Linked DNA regions of Homo sapiens: regions 2, 3 and 4 are each linked to region 1. Evidence: promoter capture Hi-C in 16 types of primary human blood cells and fetal thymus (Javierre and others, 2016). All regions are on one chromosome and are shown on one strand. Each heading gives the region's core, a stretch centred on a gene start or on the middle of the fragment in contact. The rest is flanking DNA. Distances are from core to core; before and after follow the strand shown. Region 1 holds the start of ZNF142 (zinc finger protein 142). Region 2 overlaps ARPC2 (actin related protein 2/3 complex subunit 2). Region 3 overlaps CXCR1 (C-X-C motif chemokine receptor 1). Region 4 overlaps PNKD (PNKD metallo-beta-lactamase domain containing).

Region 1 (3,603 bases), core at 1-2,500:
CCACAGGTCAGCATTACTGTGTGGGTCAATACCCTCCTTTTGTGGGGTAAGGGTGGTATTGGAATGCAAGGGTGGAGGCTCCAGGTCCCTCATCCCATTTTGTCCTTCATTAGTCTACTCATACCTGTTTCCTACCAGAGGACCATGTCTGGAGATGCCTTAAACCAAAAAGAGCTATATAAACAGGCTTCACATCAGGGTAATGGATGGACAGGATTTTTGTGGTCCCTGGGACCAGCTATGATAAAAAGGGGTCCATTGGCTGCAGTCAGCAAGGGAGAAGCGTCCGTTGACTTGTCAGTAACCCTATGTCTTGTTATGAGTAATGTCCTTCAAATATCCTCCCCCTTACGTCCCCAATATTTAACGTCTTGTTTAGACCTTTATTACCTCCCACCTAAACTGTCTTTAAAATCGTAGTTCTTGAAATGGCATTTTAATAGGTCTTCACCTCCTGCTTCACGGAACATCTACACAAGGGTCCAGATCTTTCATCATAGGGATCAGCTCCAATACCATATCTCTCTCTGCTCCAGCACCTTCAATGGCTGGCTCCCAGCAGACCCCTGAATTGGGTATAAACTCAGCCTGGTACTCAAGGCTCTCTACAATACGGCGCCCACCTACCTTTCATGGATTAGCTCCTAACACTACCTGTTTAGCAAATATGCAAATACGCAACAAATATGTTCAACAAGTAAGCAACCTCCCAACTCCTTGCTCATGCAGTGCTCTTGGCTCGGAATGCCCGTTCTTTTCTCCCTCATTCTCCCCAAATGAAAATCTGCCCATCTGCTACTTTCTCCACGGATCGTCACATCGTAGACAATAAGATCCTGAGGGACAAGAGCAAAGTTGTTTCTAGTACACCTCTCCTCCAACCCCGAACCCCGGCCACTTTGCCCTGCGCCTGGCATGCAGGGAGGTGAGCTGACAGCAGTGACCTCGGCTGAGCCTCAGAACTGGGATCCAGAATTCCAAAACACCTATGCATGGAAGGCCACAGACAAAGCTCTCCCGTCCCCGGCCCCTCCGCGACACCCAGGAACCCCCTCCTGAACCTCGCCCACACCCCAGCTCGCGCCTCCAGCCACATGGTTTGGGGTAACCCGTCACTCAGCCCTCTCACCGCCGTGACTCTCTGGCCCTCCGTCTCGATGGTTTCACCGCGCCTGCACCTTGGGGAAGCTGCGTTCGGCCCCGCCCCGGGTCCTTTCATCTACTTCCCGCCACACCCACAGAGAAGCCCACGCCACTCTACCCCAGAGCTCTCGATGGTGCTTCTCCGGCTTCAGGGCTGGAGTGGGGGTGGAGGGCGGGAAAAACCACAGAGACAAAACATAGAGTACCCCGGCAGCCGGCAAGAGGAAGAGAGAGTGGCTTCCACATCCCCAATATCCTAGAGGCGGCTGAGCCGGAGGCGGTCGCACAAAGCGGGCCCCGGGGGCCGTTCCAGCCGCGGCCGACCATAGAGATGCGGCTCCCGCCGGCTCTGGGTCTGGAGGTGAGTGAGCGGCTGCGGGGCGGAACTGGGAAGGGAATGCGGGTGGAGCGAGCTGGAGGCAAAGTTTTTCGAGCCCCGGGATCAGGGTGGGCCTGGGCGCTGGGAACTCTCGGAAGGAGGTACTGAAGGGAGCACCCAGACGAGCTGGGCCCCGGCGCTGCAGTCGCGTCACGGTTCTGGACCCCGCCCGGGTACCTGCTGCTCTCAGGACAAAATCATGACGATGCTCCATCCCAAGCCTTCCAGGTTACAAACCGCCTTTCCAGTTCGCTGGCTCTTATGATCCAGCTCCTGCCCGACGATGTGGACACTGTCATCACCTCCATTTTACAGATAGGAAAGCTGAGGCCCAGAGAAGCGAAGCGACTGTGTCTGTCCAAGACCACGCGGTGAGTCAGAGCCAGAGGCAGGTGGGAACCTGGGTCGCTAGGCCGGGGCCCGTTGTTTCTCCAGGCCTTCTCTCTGCCTTAGTCTGTCCTTTCTCTTCCTCAGCCCTCCTGCCCGGAAGATAAGCGTATTTCTTCTCTGGTGCCCACCTGTCTCCTACCTCACCCTGCCCTCCCGCAGGTGAAGGTTCTTAATCTTGACGGCTCAGCGTCCTCCTTGGCTCCCCCCGGAGGCCATGTATGGTCAAGCTTGAAGATTCCCCAGAACAGCGATAATATTCAGTAAGTGGAGGCTGCAGTTTCCAGAGAATCCCTCTGACCACGGGAGTGCACTTTCCAGCCACCTTGTGAATCCCTGTGATCTGTTGTTTTGAGTCCATGGGATTCTGGAAATAGGGACTATCAGATTGCAGGATCTTGGTTTTTGTTTGTTTTTTTTTTGAGACGGAGTTTCGCTCTTGTTGCCCAAGCTGGGGTGCAATGGTGCGATCTCGGCTCACTGCAACCTCCGCCTCCCGGGTTCCAGCGATTCTCCTGCCTCAGCCTCCCGAGTAGCTGGGATTACAGGCGTGTGCCACCACACCCTGCTGATTTTTTGTATTTTTAGTAGAAACAGGGTTTCACAATGTTCGCCAGGCTGGTCTCGAACTTCTGACCTCAGGTGATCGGCCCGCCTTGGCCTCCCAAAGTGCTGGGATTACAGGCCTGAGCCACCGCGCCCGGCCTGGTTTCTTCTTCTTTTTTTCTTTTTGCATCTTGTCTGTGACTCAATTTCATGAAGTGATTCCCATCATTCTTATTAATTACTAATTATTCAGCTTAAACTCATTTTAGCCATGTATAACAGGGTATGCAATTCAATTGTCATTCATTCCTCAGTTATGTTCCCATATTTAGTTTGAGGCCATAGTCAGTTAATGAGTTTGAAATTTCTCCAAATGTGTTACGTTATAGGTGAGGAACCACTGGTTTTGTACAAGATACCTAGCTTTACTCCAATGCAGCTCCATATCTGTGGTTCTTCACTGGAATCTTCGATTGTGGGTGATTTGTGTTCGTTGAAGTGATAATGTCAGTATCACAAAGTAATATCATTGAAGTGATAATGTCAACAAATTACTAAAAAAGCTATACATCTAGGGAGAGAGACTGACAGGTAAACAACAGTGCAGTGTGACCTCGTTTCTGATAGGGCTGTGTACAGAGTGCCCTTAGGACGCCAGAAGAGAGAAGATAAGAGTTTCGGGAAGCCAGGCCCGGCGCGGTGCCTCACGCCTGTAATCCCAGCACTTTGGGAGGCCGAGGCAGGTGGATCACCTGAGTTCTGGAGTTCAAGACCAGCCCAACCAACATGGAGAAACCCCATCTCTACTAAAAATACAAAATAGTAGCCAGGCGTGGTGGTACATGCCTGTAATCCCAGCTACTCAGGAGGCTGAGGCAGGAGAATCGCTTGAACCCAGGAGGCAGAGGTTGTAGTGAGCTGAGATCGTGCCACTGCCCTCCAGCCTAGGTGACAGACTAAGACTGTCTCAAAAAAAAGAATGTCAGGAGGCCTTCATGGTGGAAGTGACATTTGTGCAGCTTCTTCAAGGATAGTTAATTGGTTAGCCAGATAAGAGAGAGAGATTGAGAAGGGGAAAAGGCATATCAAGCCAAGAGACGCAAAAGGCTGTGAGGGTATGAAAGCAAAAGAGAATGTGGTGGGTCTGG
Region 2 (3,444 bases), core at 574-3,073, 430 kb after region 1:
CTCTTGGACTTCCCAGTCCCCAGAACATGAGTCAAATAACATATTTTCTTCATAAATTATTCAGTCTGTGGTATTCTGTTATAGCAACAAAAAACAGACTGAGACTCCCTATTTTTTTCTCTGTCACCGTGACTGCTTCACCTGGTGGAAACTGCTTCCAGAATGACATGGCTTAAGAAACAAACATTTTATTTTAATTTAATTAATTCTTTTTTTTTGAGACGGAGTCTCACTCTGTCACCCAGGCTGGAGTGCAGTGGCGTGATCTCGGCTCATTGCAACCTCCACCTCCTGGGTTCAAGCAATTCTCCTGCCTCAGCCTCCCTAGTAGCTGGGATTACAGGTGTCCACCACCACACCAAGCTAATTTTTATATTTTTTAGTAGAGATGGGGTTTCACCATGTTGCCCAGGCTGGGCTCGAAATCCTGACCTCAAGCAATCCACCTGTCTTGGCCTCCCAAAGTGCTGGGATTACAGGCGTGAGCCACTGCGCCTGGCCTACTTATTTATTTATATACAAAGACAGGGTCTCACTACGTTGCCCAGGCTGGGCTTGAACTCTTGACCTCAAGCGATGCTCCTGCCTTGGCCTCCAAAAGTGCTGGGATTACAGGAATGAGCCCCCACGCCTGGCTGAACAATAATTTCCTAATATTCCACATATTTATTTAACCATTTTCCTATAGCTGGAAGAAATTTTCAACCTGCAAGACTACATTTTCTTACACAAGGGCAAAAGATAAATAATGCCACCTGTAGTTCCTATTTGGTGATTGCACAGCCACTGTGAGGTATTTCTTTTACCGAAGAGGAATTGAGAGGAGGGGCTCAAGGTCACGAGAGTTTCTTGGTGGCACAGAGAGACTTGACCTTCAGGTGTCTGATATACCACTTCTTTAAAAAAAAGTAACATGCATATCCCAAGAATTTGAAACAGCATGCGACCTCTGAGCTACAAGTCTGTGTTGCACGTACTATTGGTATTTCGAGGAAGGGGAAATCAGATGTGGTGGGGATTTAGTTTAAATCCCTAAGTCCCTAAGATTTAGTTTAATTTCAAGCTTACTAAGTTAATATTCTGAGATCTAAGAGGTACTGAGAGCCAAATTTATATCATGTTCAACTGCTTTGCTCCCTCCCCTTGGTAAAACCAGCCAACACTTCCTTGTCACTTCACTTGCACTTTTAACCATGATTCACTTTTCAGTTTGTACCCCCTCTCCCAATGACACCAGGAGATGGGTGGAGGCAACCTATCACTCATCACCATTACCTTCCCACTCTAGCAGCAGAGGCATTCCACCTTTAAAAATGGCCTGTGACAAAGTAATAACCTTCCTGTGGTTATCATGGGTTGGTCACTGTTTAACCAACCCAGGGAGCCATTTACTGTGCACTCTGCTCCAACACTATGAATGTTACTTACTCCACCCACTTGAGTGGGTGGGGCTGGTTCTTTGACCCTTGTGGTAGCTACAAGAATAGCAATGTGTTCTGGAGCTCCATCGTAAGAAAAGCACAGAATGGAAAGGAGATTTAAGAAATCTAGCTTAACTCTTTCTTTCCAGGATTATTATTATTGCATTTAGATCTTTTCCTTTTTTTGAGGTGGAATCTCACTATGTCGTCCAGGCTGGACTTGAACTCCTGGGCTCCAGCAACTCTCCCCACTTGAACCCCTCAAGCCAACTGTGTGAAGTCCCAACACACAGTTGGCACTACAGGTGTGTGCCACTGTGCAGGCTTGCACCTAGTGAAGACTGTCTAGGGGAGAATGATTACACAATTTAAAAAAAGTCTATTCAAATATTTTAACACTTCTTTTCAGGTAGTTATAGCTGATCCAAAGCAGCGATGCAGCTGGACATGGTGGCTCACATCTATAATCCCAGCACTTTGGGAGGCCCAGGAAGGAGGACTGCTTGAGCCCAGGAGTTTGAAACTAGCCTGGGCAACATAGTGAAACCTCCTCTCTCTAAAGAACAAACAAACAAAAAATAAGCCAGGTGTGGTGGCACGTGCCTGTAGTCCCAGACACTCAGGAGGCTGAGGTGAGAGGACTGCTTGAGCCTGGGAGGTTGAGGGGTGCAGTGGCTGTGATTGTGCCACTGCACTCCAGCCTAGGTGACAGAACAAGACCTTGTCAAAAAAAAAAAAAAAAAAAAAAAAGAAAAAAAAAAGAAAAGGCTGGGCACGGTGGCTCACACCTGCAATCTTAGCACTGTGGGAGGTCGAGGCAGGCAGATCACCTGAGGTCAGAAGTTTGAGAGCAGCCTGGCCAATGTGGTGAAACGCCATCTCTATGAAAAGTACAAAAAATTAGCCAGGTGTAGCGGTGCATGCCTGTAATCCCAGCTACTCAGGAGGCTGAGGCAGATGAACTGCTTGAACCCAGGAGTTGGAGGTTGCAGTGAGCTGAGCTGGCGCCACTGCAGTACAGCCTGGGGCAACAGAGTGAGACTCCACCTCAAAAAAAAAAAAGAGGCAGGGCTGCTTTAATAGCCATTTGTTTTCTTTCACTCTTTATCTGGTAAAGAAGTGTCAGCCACTATCTTTTACAAAACAATTCTTCATAAGCTTTATAAAAGCACTAGGTCTTCTTTCTGAAGCTTTTCTTTTTCCAGTAAACTAATCTGGATTCCAAATCCTCTAAATATTTCTTCTTTCTTTGAACTTATGAGAAAATCAATTGCATTTGAATAACTAAGGGAAGCAACCAATGGCTCTTGGTATTAAGACTAATTTTAGTTTTTATGCTAAAAAATTAAACAAGCTTTTGACCATATTCCTTTACAAATCATCTTTTATTATATAAGTTTTAAATAATTCAAAAGCTACTACTTTTCAGAAAGAAACAGCTATGGTTATATCTTCATTTAACAGATTAAGGAGAACCTAGTTTGTTAAAACTAAGAAATTTGAAAACTGATTCAGGAACTGAGTCATATTTCCTGCTTTGAGACCCAACCACAGCGTGCACAAACTGGTGTAATAGCATTTTCTTTCTTCCATAAATGGCTCTCCTCAGAGCAAATACAGTTCAACAGGAACCAAACCTGCTACTTAACTATTTAAAGAAGCCAGTGAACAAGGCATGGCCACCGAAGTTTCATAATGTCTGGACATCTTTCTTATTTCCCCTATGGTAGTTATAAAGAAGAGATATTTAAAGACGGTAGCTTTAAAGAGCTTTAATTAAAAATTTCAAAAGACAGCTATTTGTGCCTAAGCCTCCAGAATGAGAACCTGAGACTATAAAATTTAAACAAGCTAGAAGTTATCTATCTGCCTTGATAATATTACAAAAATAGAACAGAACCTAATTCTTGCAACAGCTATTTTTGTACTGATCAAGGAAAAGTATTCTTTGCTATGTTTTTGGAGAACTAAAGCTATTTTTGTTTCCATTGTTTTAAAGCAAGCAAGCAAGAGTCAAAACCTT
Region 3 (3,540 bases), core at 274-2,773, 500 kb after region 1:
TGCTGGCTGCCCTACAACCTGGTCCTGCTGGCAGACACCCTCATGAGGACCCAGGTGATCCAGGAGAGCTGTGAGCGCCGCAACAACATCGGCCGGGCCCTGGATGCCACTGAGATTCTGGGATTTCTCCATAGCTGCCTCAACCCCATCATCTACGCCTTCATCGGCCAAAATTTTCGCCATGGATTCCTCAAGATCCTGGCTATGCATGGCCTGGTCAGCAAGGAGTTCTTGGCACGTCATCGTGTTACCTCCTACACTTCTTCGTCTGTCAATGTCTCTTCCAACCTCTGAAAACCATCGATGAAGGAATATCTCTTCTCAGAAGGAAAGAATAACCAACACCCTGAGGTTGTGTGTGGAAGGTGATCTGGCTCTGGACAGGCACTATCTGGGTTTTGGGGGGACGCTATAGGATGTGGGGAAGTTAGGAACTGGTGTCTTCAGGGGCCACACCAACCTTCTGAGGAGCTGTTGAGGTACCTCCAAGGACCGGCCTTTGCACCTCCATGGAAACGAAGCACCATCATTCCCGTTGAACGTCACATCTTTAACCCACTAACTGGCTAATTAGCATGGCCACATCTGAGCCCCGAATCTGACATTAGATGAGAGAACAGGGCTGAAGCTGTGTCCTCATGAGGGCTGGATGCTCTCGTTGACCCTCACAGGAGCATCTCCTCAACTCTGAGTGTTAAGCGTTGAGCCACCAAGCTGGTGGCTCTGTGTGCTCTGATCCGAGCTCAGGGGGGTGGTTTTCCCATCTCAGGTGTGTTGCAGTGTCTGCTGGAGACATTGAGGCAGGCACTGCCAAAACATCAACCTGCCAGCTGGCCTTGTGAGGAGCTGGAAACACATGTTCCCCTTGGGGGTGGTGGATGAACAAAGAGAAAGAGGGTTTGGAAGCCAGATCTATGCCACAAGAACCCCCTTTACCCCCATGACCAACATCGCAGACACATGTGCTGGCCACCTGCTGAGCCCCAAGTGGAACGAGACAAGCAGCCCTTAGCCCTTCCCCTCTGCAGCTTCCAGGCTGGCGTGCAGCATCAGCATCCCTAGAAAGCCATGTGCAGCCACCAGTCCATTGGGCAGGCAGATGTTCCTAATAAAGCTTCTGTTCCGTGCTTGTCCCTGTGGAAGTATCTTGGTTGTGACAGAGTCAAGGGTGTGTGCAGCATTGTTGGCTGTTCCTGCAGTAGAATGGGGGCAGCACCTCCTAAGAAGGCACCTCTCTGGGTTGAAGGGCAGTGTTCCCTGGGGCTTTAACTCCTGCTAGAACAGTCTCTTGAGGCACAGAAACTCCTGTTCATGCCCATACCCCTGGCCAAGGAAGATCCCTTTGTCCACAAGTAAAAGGAAATGCTCCTCCAGGGAGTCTCAGCTTCACCCTGAGGTGAGCATCATCTTCTGGGTTAGGCCTTGCCTAGGCATAGCCCTGCCTCAAGCTATGTGAGCTCACCAGTCCCTCCCCAAATGCTTTCCATGAGTTGCAGTTTTTTCCTAGTCTGTTTTCCCTCCTTGGAGACAGGGCCCTGTCGGTTTATTCACTGTATGTCCTTGGTGCCTGGAGCCTACTAAATGCTCAATAAATAATGATCACAGGAATGAATGCATGCTGAAAAGACCACTCTTTTGCACACCATCTGCTCAAAGCTCCTCTTGTCTGTCCTCTCCGCTTTCAGCCTCCGTCTGTCCACTTATTAAGTTTGCCTTTGTGGTTTAGCTTCATTAGATGTTTATCTGTGTAAAAATGTCCCAAGTGAGGACTTAAGATGTCAGGGCTCTTCTGATGGCAAATGATAGAAAGAGAAGTCAAACTAGCTTAAGCAAAACTGAGAGTGTGGGTTTAGCCTGTGTGGGGAAGGATCAGGGAAGGCTTGAGGTTGGGAATAGGGTGAGGCTCAGAGACAGGACCTAGATCAAGCTTCAGATGGGGATCAGTGATTGATGTTGAAATCAAAGCTGGGATGGGGGCAGGGATGGGGTGGCAGCTTGGGATGAGGTCAGAGAAGGATGAATGCCAGGAATCGGTAGAGATCTACAAGGAGGGAGAGTGAGAGTCAGGGTCACAGTGAGGTGTTGGGAACAGGGAGATTCAACATGGAGCTGGGACCAGATATGGAGAGTGAGACTTTGGAATGGGATAAGTGTGGGGGAGTGGTGAGGCTCAGGGAGGGGGTGTCAGGCCTGGAATGAATATCAGGGAAGGCTTAGTAGCTATAAGGCTGGAGCAGAAGACGTGCCTGGTAGGGTCACCATCCTATCTGGAGCATCATCTAAGATCCTCTTCCGGGGCCAAAAGACAGAGGCTCCTCAGTCTGTCCTGCTTAAGACTCTCCAGGCAGGTGAGTGAGGAGGGAGTTAGGCACTCGAGCCCTAAGAGATAGACCTGATTCAGCAGAGAAGACAAGAAGGATGCAAAGGATGCACAGAGAATCTAGGGCAGAAGGCTGAGAACTGGGGCCTCCTTTTCCTCTCCTCCCTCCGCTGATCTCCCTCCACCTCTCCTACTGTTTCCTCAAAGTCCAACTTCCTCCTTCTTCACCTTATGCTCCTGCAAGGACAACTCCATCAGAGGCTTCAGTAAGTAAATAGGGATCCACACTGGGTCCAGGGGAAATGCAAATGACTCATAACCTCATGAAAAATGCTCAGTCTCACTAGGAACTAAATGAGGCTCAAACAGCAACAAAATAACTCAGAAGTGTTTTAAACAGGGGAGGGATATAGTGGACTCTTCAAACAAGTGCAACATTTTTCGATTGGATTTTTTTTTTTTTTTTAATGAGACAGGGTCTTGCTCTGTCACCCAGGCTGGAGTGCAGTGGTGCATACACAGCTCACTGCAGCCTCAACCTTCTGAGTTCAGGTGATCCTCCAACCTCAGTTTCCAGAGTAGCTGGGACCAGAGCTGTGCGCCATTATGCCCAGATAATTTTTAAAATTTTTTGTAGATATGGAGTCTTGCCACGTTGCCCAGGCTGGTCTTGGACCCCTGAGCTCAAGTGATCTGCCTGCTTCGGCCTCCTAAAGTGCTGGGATTACAGGTGTGAGCCACTGCACCCAGGCTGATTGGAAATTCTAATGCAGCCTGTAATTTTCTGGGTATAGCTCAAGACACAAATGATTTGGATTTCAGATTTTTAAAAAATGTCAGGATTTTGGTACTTAGTTAACAGCATATTGAAGTACCAAAAACTGATATTTCAATTACTAGATAGGGTGAGGATTAGATCCAGTCAGAGCCAGGGAGAGTGTTTGCCTTAAGGAGGGACTCCCTTGTCCAGGATGGGGCTGGCACTAGGGATGGGGTGAATCTTAGGACAGGAGTGGGGGTCAGAAATGGGAGGGGTCAGTGATGAGATTGGGATTACAGAGGGGATGTACATCAGGGTAAGGTGAGGGACGGGGATTAGGATGTAACGGCATGTTCTGCACAATGCTTCCTGATGTTAAAATCCTAAAGTTTGTTTTGTAGCCTTGGTGACAACGTTTGAGACTCTAAATCAAAATGTGAAAATCTACTGTTTTCCCCTA
Region 4 (3,699 bases), core at 562-3,061, 310 kb after region 1:
CCATCCTGGCTAACACGGTGAAACCCTGTCTCGACTAAAAATACGAAAAATTAGCTGGGTGTGTGGCATGCACCTGTAGTCCCAGCTACTTGGGAGGCTGAGGCAGGAGAATCGCTTGAACCCGGGAGGTGGAGGTTGTAGTGAGCCGAGATCGCACCACTGCACTCCAGCCTGGTGACAGAGGGAGACTCTGTCTCAAAAAACAAAAAAAAGAAGACAGCCGCCCCGTCCGGGAGGGAGGCGGGGTCCAGCCCCCGGCCGGCCAGCCGCCCCATCAGGGAGGGAGGGGGGGACAGCCCCCGCCCGGCCAGCCGCCCCGTCCGGGAGGTTGGGGGCGCCTCCGCCCGGCCGCCGCCCCGTTGGGAGGTGGGGGGCGCCTCTGCCCGGCCACCCCTTCTGGGAAGTGAGGAGCCCCTCTGCCTGGCGGCCACCCCATCTGGGAGGTGTACCCAACAGCTCATTGAGAACGGGCCATGATGACGATGGTGGTTTTGTGGAATAGAAAAGGGGGAAATGCGGGGAAAAGATAGAGAAATCAGATTGTTGCTGTGTCTGTGTAGAAAGAAGTAGACATAGGAGACTCCATTTTGTTCCGTACTAAGAAAAATTCTTCTGCCTTGGGATGCTGTTGATCTATGACCTTACCCCCAACCCTGTGCTCTCTGAAACATGTGCTGTGTCCACTCAGGGTTAAATGGATTAAGGGCGGTGCAAGATGTGCTTTGTTAAACAGATGCTCGAAGGCAGCATGCTCGTTAAGAGTCATCACCACTCCCTAATCTCAAGTACCCAGGGACACAAACACTGCGGAAGGCCGCAGGGTCCTCTGCCTAGGAAAACCAGAGACCTTTGTTCACTTGTTTATCTGCTGACCTTCCCTCCACTATTGTCCTATAACCCTGCCAAATCCCCCTCTGCGAGAAACACCCAAGAATGATCAATTAAAAATAAATAAATAAATAAATAAAAGAAGACATACATGTGGACAACAAACATATGAATAAAAGCTCAACATCACTCATCATTAGAGAAATGCAAATCAAAACCACAATGAGATACCATCTCACACAAGTCAGAATGGCTGTTATTAAAAAGTCAAAAAATAACAGACGCTGGAAAGGTTGTAGAGTAAAAGGAACGCTTATACACTGTTGGCGGGAGTGTAAATTTGTTCAACCAAAGTGGAAGACAGTGTGGTGTTTCCTCAAAGACCTAAAGACAGAACTACCATTCGACCCAGCAATCCCATTACTGGTTATATACCCAAAGGAATATAAGTTGTTCTATTATAATGATATGGTGTGGCTTTTTGTCCCCACCCAAATTTCATCTTTTTTTTTTTTGGGACAGAATCTCCCTCTGTTGCCCAGGCTGGAGTACAGTGGTGCGATCTTGGCCTACTTCAACCTCTGCCTCCCGGGTTCAGCGATTCTCGTGCCTCAGTCTCCTGGGTAGCTGGGATTACAGGCGCTCACCATCATGCCTTGCTAAGTTTTGTATTTTTAGTAGAGACGGGGTTTCACCATGTTGGCCAGGATGGTCGTGATCTCCTGACCTCGTGATCCGCCTGCCTCAGCCTCCCAAAGTGCTGGGATTACAGGCGTGAGCCACCACGCCCGGCCCTTTAATCATTTTTATGAACTGAAAACCAGTGTCACTTGTCAAAAATAAATATTGAACCCAAATATAAATATAATGAAAACAAAACGATGTTGTTAAAGCTTAACTACAGACATTTCCCAACTAAAGTATGAACCTGGATCCCGGGTCTTTCTTTCCAAAGACATTAAAGACAGACTAGTGCCAAGACCGTGTCCTTGAAGTCCAATTGATTGCTGTGCTGTGGCCATGTACAGCCACCCTACTTTGGCCAGTGGTACACTTGTGTATCTCAAGCTTTGGGAAACATTGAGATAAGCAAATCGTAAACCCTGAACAAATGCCCATGGGCCTTGGGAAGAACATATTTTAGGCATCATTTCTCTCTCTCTTTTTAAAAAAATTTTTTTTTTTTTTGAGACAGAGTCTCATTCTGTCGCCCAGGCTGGAGTGCAGTGGTGCGATCTCGGCTCACTGCAACCTCCGCCTCCTGGGTTCACGTGATTCTCCTGCCTCAGCCTCCTGAGTAGCTGGGATTATAGGCTCCTGCCACTATGTCTGGCTAATTTTTTGTATTTGTAGTACAGATGAGGTTTCACTATGTTGGCCAGACTGGTCTCGAACTCCTGACCTTGTGATCCACCCGCCTCAGCCTCCTAAAGAGCTGGGATTATAGGTGTGAGCCACTGCGCCCAGCCTTTGGGCATCATTTCTGATCAAAACTCTTGAAGTGCCTAACTGCAAGTTAGCAGGCCTGGAACTGAGATGGGAAAACTGTGAGAAAGTTCTCTGCTGTTTTCACTCATGTAGCAACAAAGACAAGCTGTTGGGTGATCAAGTCTTGATTAAATCATTCATTCATTCAACATTTATTGAGCGCCTACTGTGTGCTAGGCACCGTGCTAGGCGCAGAAATACAGAGATGCATAAGATACAGTCCATGCCCTTAAGGATTCACAGTCTAGAAGGGGAGACAAACATGTAAACAAGTAAAATACAGTGTGATAAGTGCCACAAGAGAAGCATTGACAAAGTGCAGAGGTAGCCTGGAGGGGAGGGGCACAGGGGTTGCCTTCCTGGAGGAGGGGGCCTTTGAGGGGATCGTGAGAGATGAACTTGCCAGGCAGACAAGGCAGGAGGAGCAGGGGAAGGCATTCCAGTCGGAAGAAACAGCATGAGCGAAGGCACAGAGGCATGAAACTGCATGTCTTGCTTGGTGAGTGGGGAACTCTAACTAGTCTGGTGGTATTGCTAAAGTGTACTAGAGGCTGTGGCTAGAGAAGGGGGCAGAGGCCAGATCATGAGGGGAAACTGAGGGCAGGGGCATCTTGGAGGGTCACCAGAGGTGAGCAGAGCCCGAGGGCAGGCTTTGACACAGGAAAAGAGGGCTCCTGGCTGACTCAAGGTACACCTGCCTGAGGACCACAGGGTTCCTCGCTGTGGCTCCAAAGGGATCTCGACCCAAGAGTAGAGGAGCAGCAGAGCTGGAGGTGAAGCAGAGGGGTCGGGCCAGGTCTGGGACCCAGAGCTGCCATGCACTCCCGCGCTCTCACAGACTTCTGATTTCCAACCTGCACGTCAGAGCCCCCTCCTGCCAGCCGGATGGGGGCCTGGATCCAGTGGGAAATCACATGGGAATATGGCTGGCAAACTGCAAAGGGCCAGATGAGTGTCAGGTTACAGAATAAATCTTTACTAACTCAAAGAAGAAAAGGGCTGCGGATAAAACAGGAAAGGTTAGATGGAGGAAGGCGGGCAGACGGGCCTAAGAACAAGGGCCAAAATGAGAATACAGCATCGGCCAAAGAGGACCGTGGCTGTCTCTCCCCTGGCAAGGAGGGGCCCTTTTGGCCCAGGGCAGAGGCAGAGGCCAGTGGGTACAACCAGGCCAGATGTGCAAGGAGAGCATGTGACCTGCAAGACTGTGGGGCTCCACACTCCAGACTCCAGTGTCTCCTTAGCCCAATGAGGAGGTTTCCTTGGCAATCAGGACCCTCCTTCTTCCAGGCTGTAGGGAGGCCACTGAGGCAGAGAGTGGCCAGCCAGCATTCCAGCCCTTCAGTGTTCTTAGGAATGGCTCTGTCTGAAAAATGGCTTTGC

The links. The method cuts DNA at HindIII sites, captures the fragments that hold promoters and counts their contacts. A CHiCAGO score of 5 or more calls a contact.
Region 2: a fragment that was not itself captured here is called in contact with the fragment with the promoter of ZNF142 in region 1 in 6 of 17 cell types (total CD8 T cells, fetal thymus, erythroblasts and 3 more); the score reaches 7.9 in total CD8 T cells.
Region 3: a fragment that was not itself captured here is called in contact with the fragment with the promoter of ZNF142 in region 1 in 1 of 17 cell types (total CD8 T cells); the score reaches 5.2 in total CD8 T cells.
Region 4: a contact is called between a fragment that was not itself captured here and the fragment with the promoter of ZNF142 in region 1, in 2 of 17 cell types (total CD8 T cells and naive B cells). The highest score is 5.5, in total CD8 T cells.

The regions. Positions count from the first base shown.
Region 1 is chr2:218,657,270-218,660,872 of GRCh38, reverse strand. It overlaps ZNF142 (zinc finger protein 142), which reads left to right and starts at 1,250. Exons shown (of 11, transcript NM_001379659.1): 1 at 1,250-1,504; 2 at 1,743-1,893; 3 at 1,997-2,172. BCS1L (BCS1 ubiquinol-cytochrome c reductase complex chaperone) reads right to left here and starts at 1,190. Exons shown (of 8, transcript NM_001079866.2): 1 at 1,130-1,190. RefSeq lists enhancers at 1,067-1,196, 2,007-2,126. The HindIII fragment of the contact is 10,571 bases long and covers 1-2,141 here.
Region 2 is chr2:218,229,015-218,232,458 of GRCh38, reverse strand. All of the region lies in intron 4 of ARPC2 (actin related protein 2/3 complex subunit 2), which reads right to left. Among named protein-coding and RNA genes, the nearest start is that of ARPC2, 14 kb to the right of the region's middle. The HindIII fragment of the contact is 1,516 bases long and covers 1,066-2,581 here.
Region 3 is chr2:218,160,913-218,164,452 of GRCh38, reverse strand. It overlaps CXCR1 (C-X-C motif chemokine receptor 1), which reads left to right. Exons shown (of 2, transcript NM_000634.3): 2 at 1-1,612. The coding sequence ends at 294. Among named protein-coding and RNA genes, the nearest start is that of CXCR1, 4.3 kb to the left of the region's middle. The HindIII fragment of the contact is 813 bases long and covers 1,117-1,929 here.
Region 4 is chr2:218,345,533-218,349,231 of GRCh38, reverse strand. PNKD (PNKD metallo-beta-lactamase domain containing) reads right to left here. Exons shown (of 10, transcript NM_015488.5): 10 at 2,439-3,699. The region is part of intron 2 of CATIP-AS2 (CATIP antisense RNA 2); the gene reads left to right. Among named protein-coding and RNA genes, the nearest start is that of MIR6810, 5.5 kb to the right of the region's middle. RefSeq lists an enhancer at 1-318. The HindIII fragment of the contact is 175 bases long and covers 1,724-1,898 here.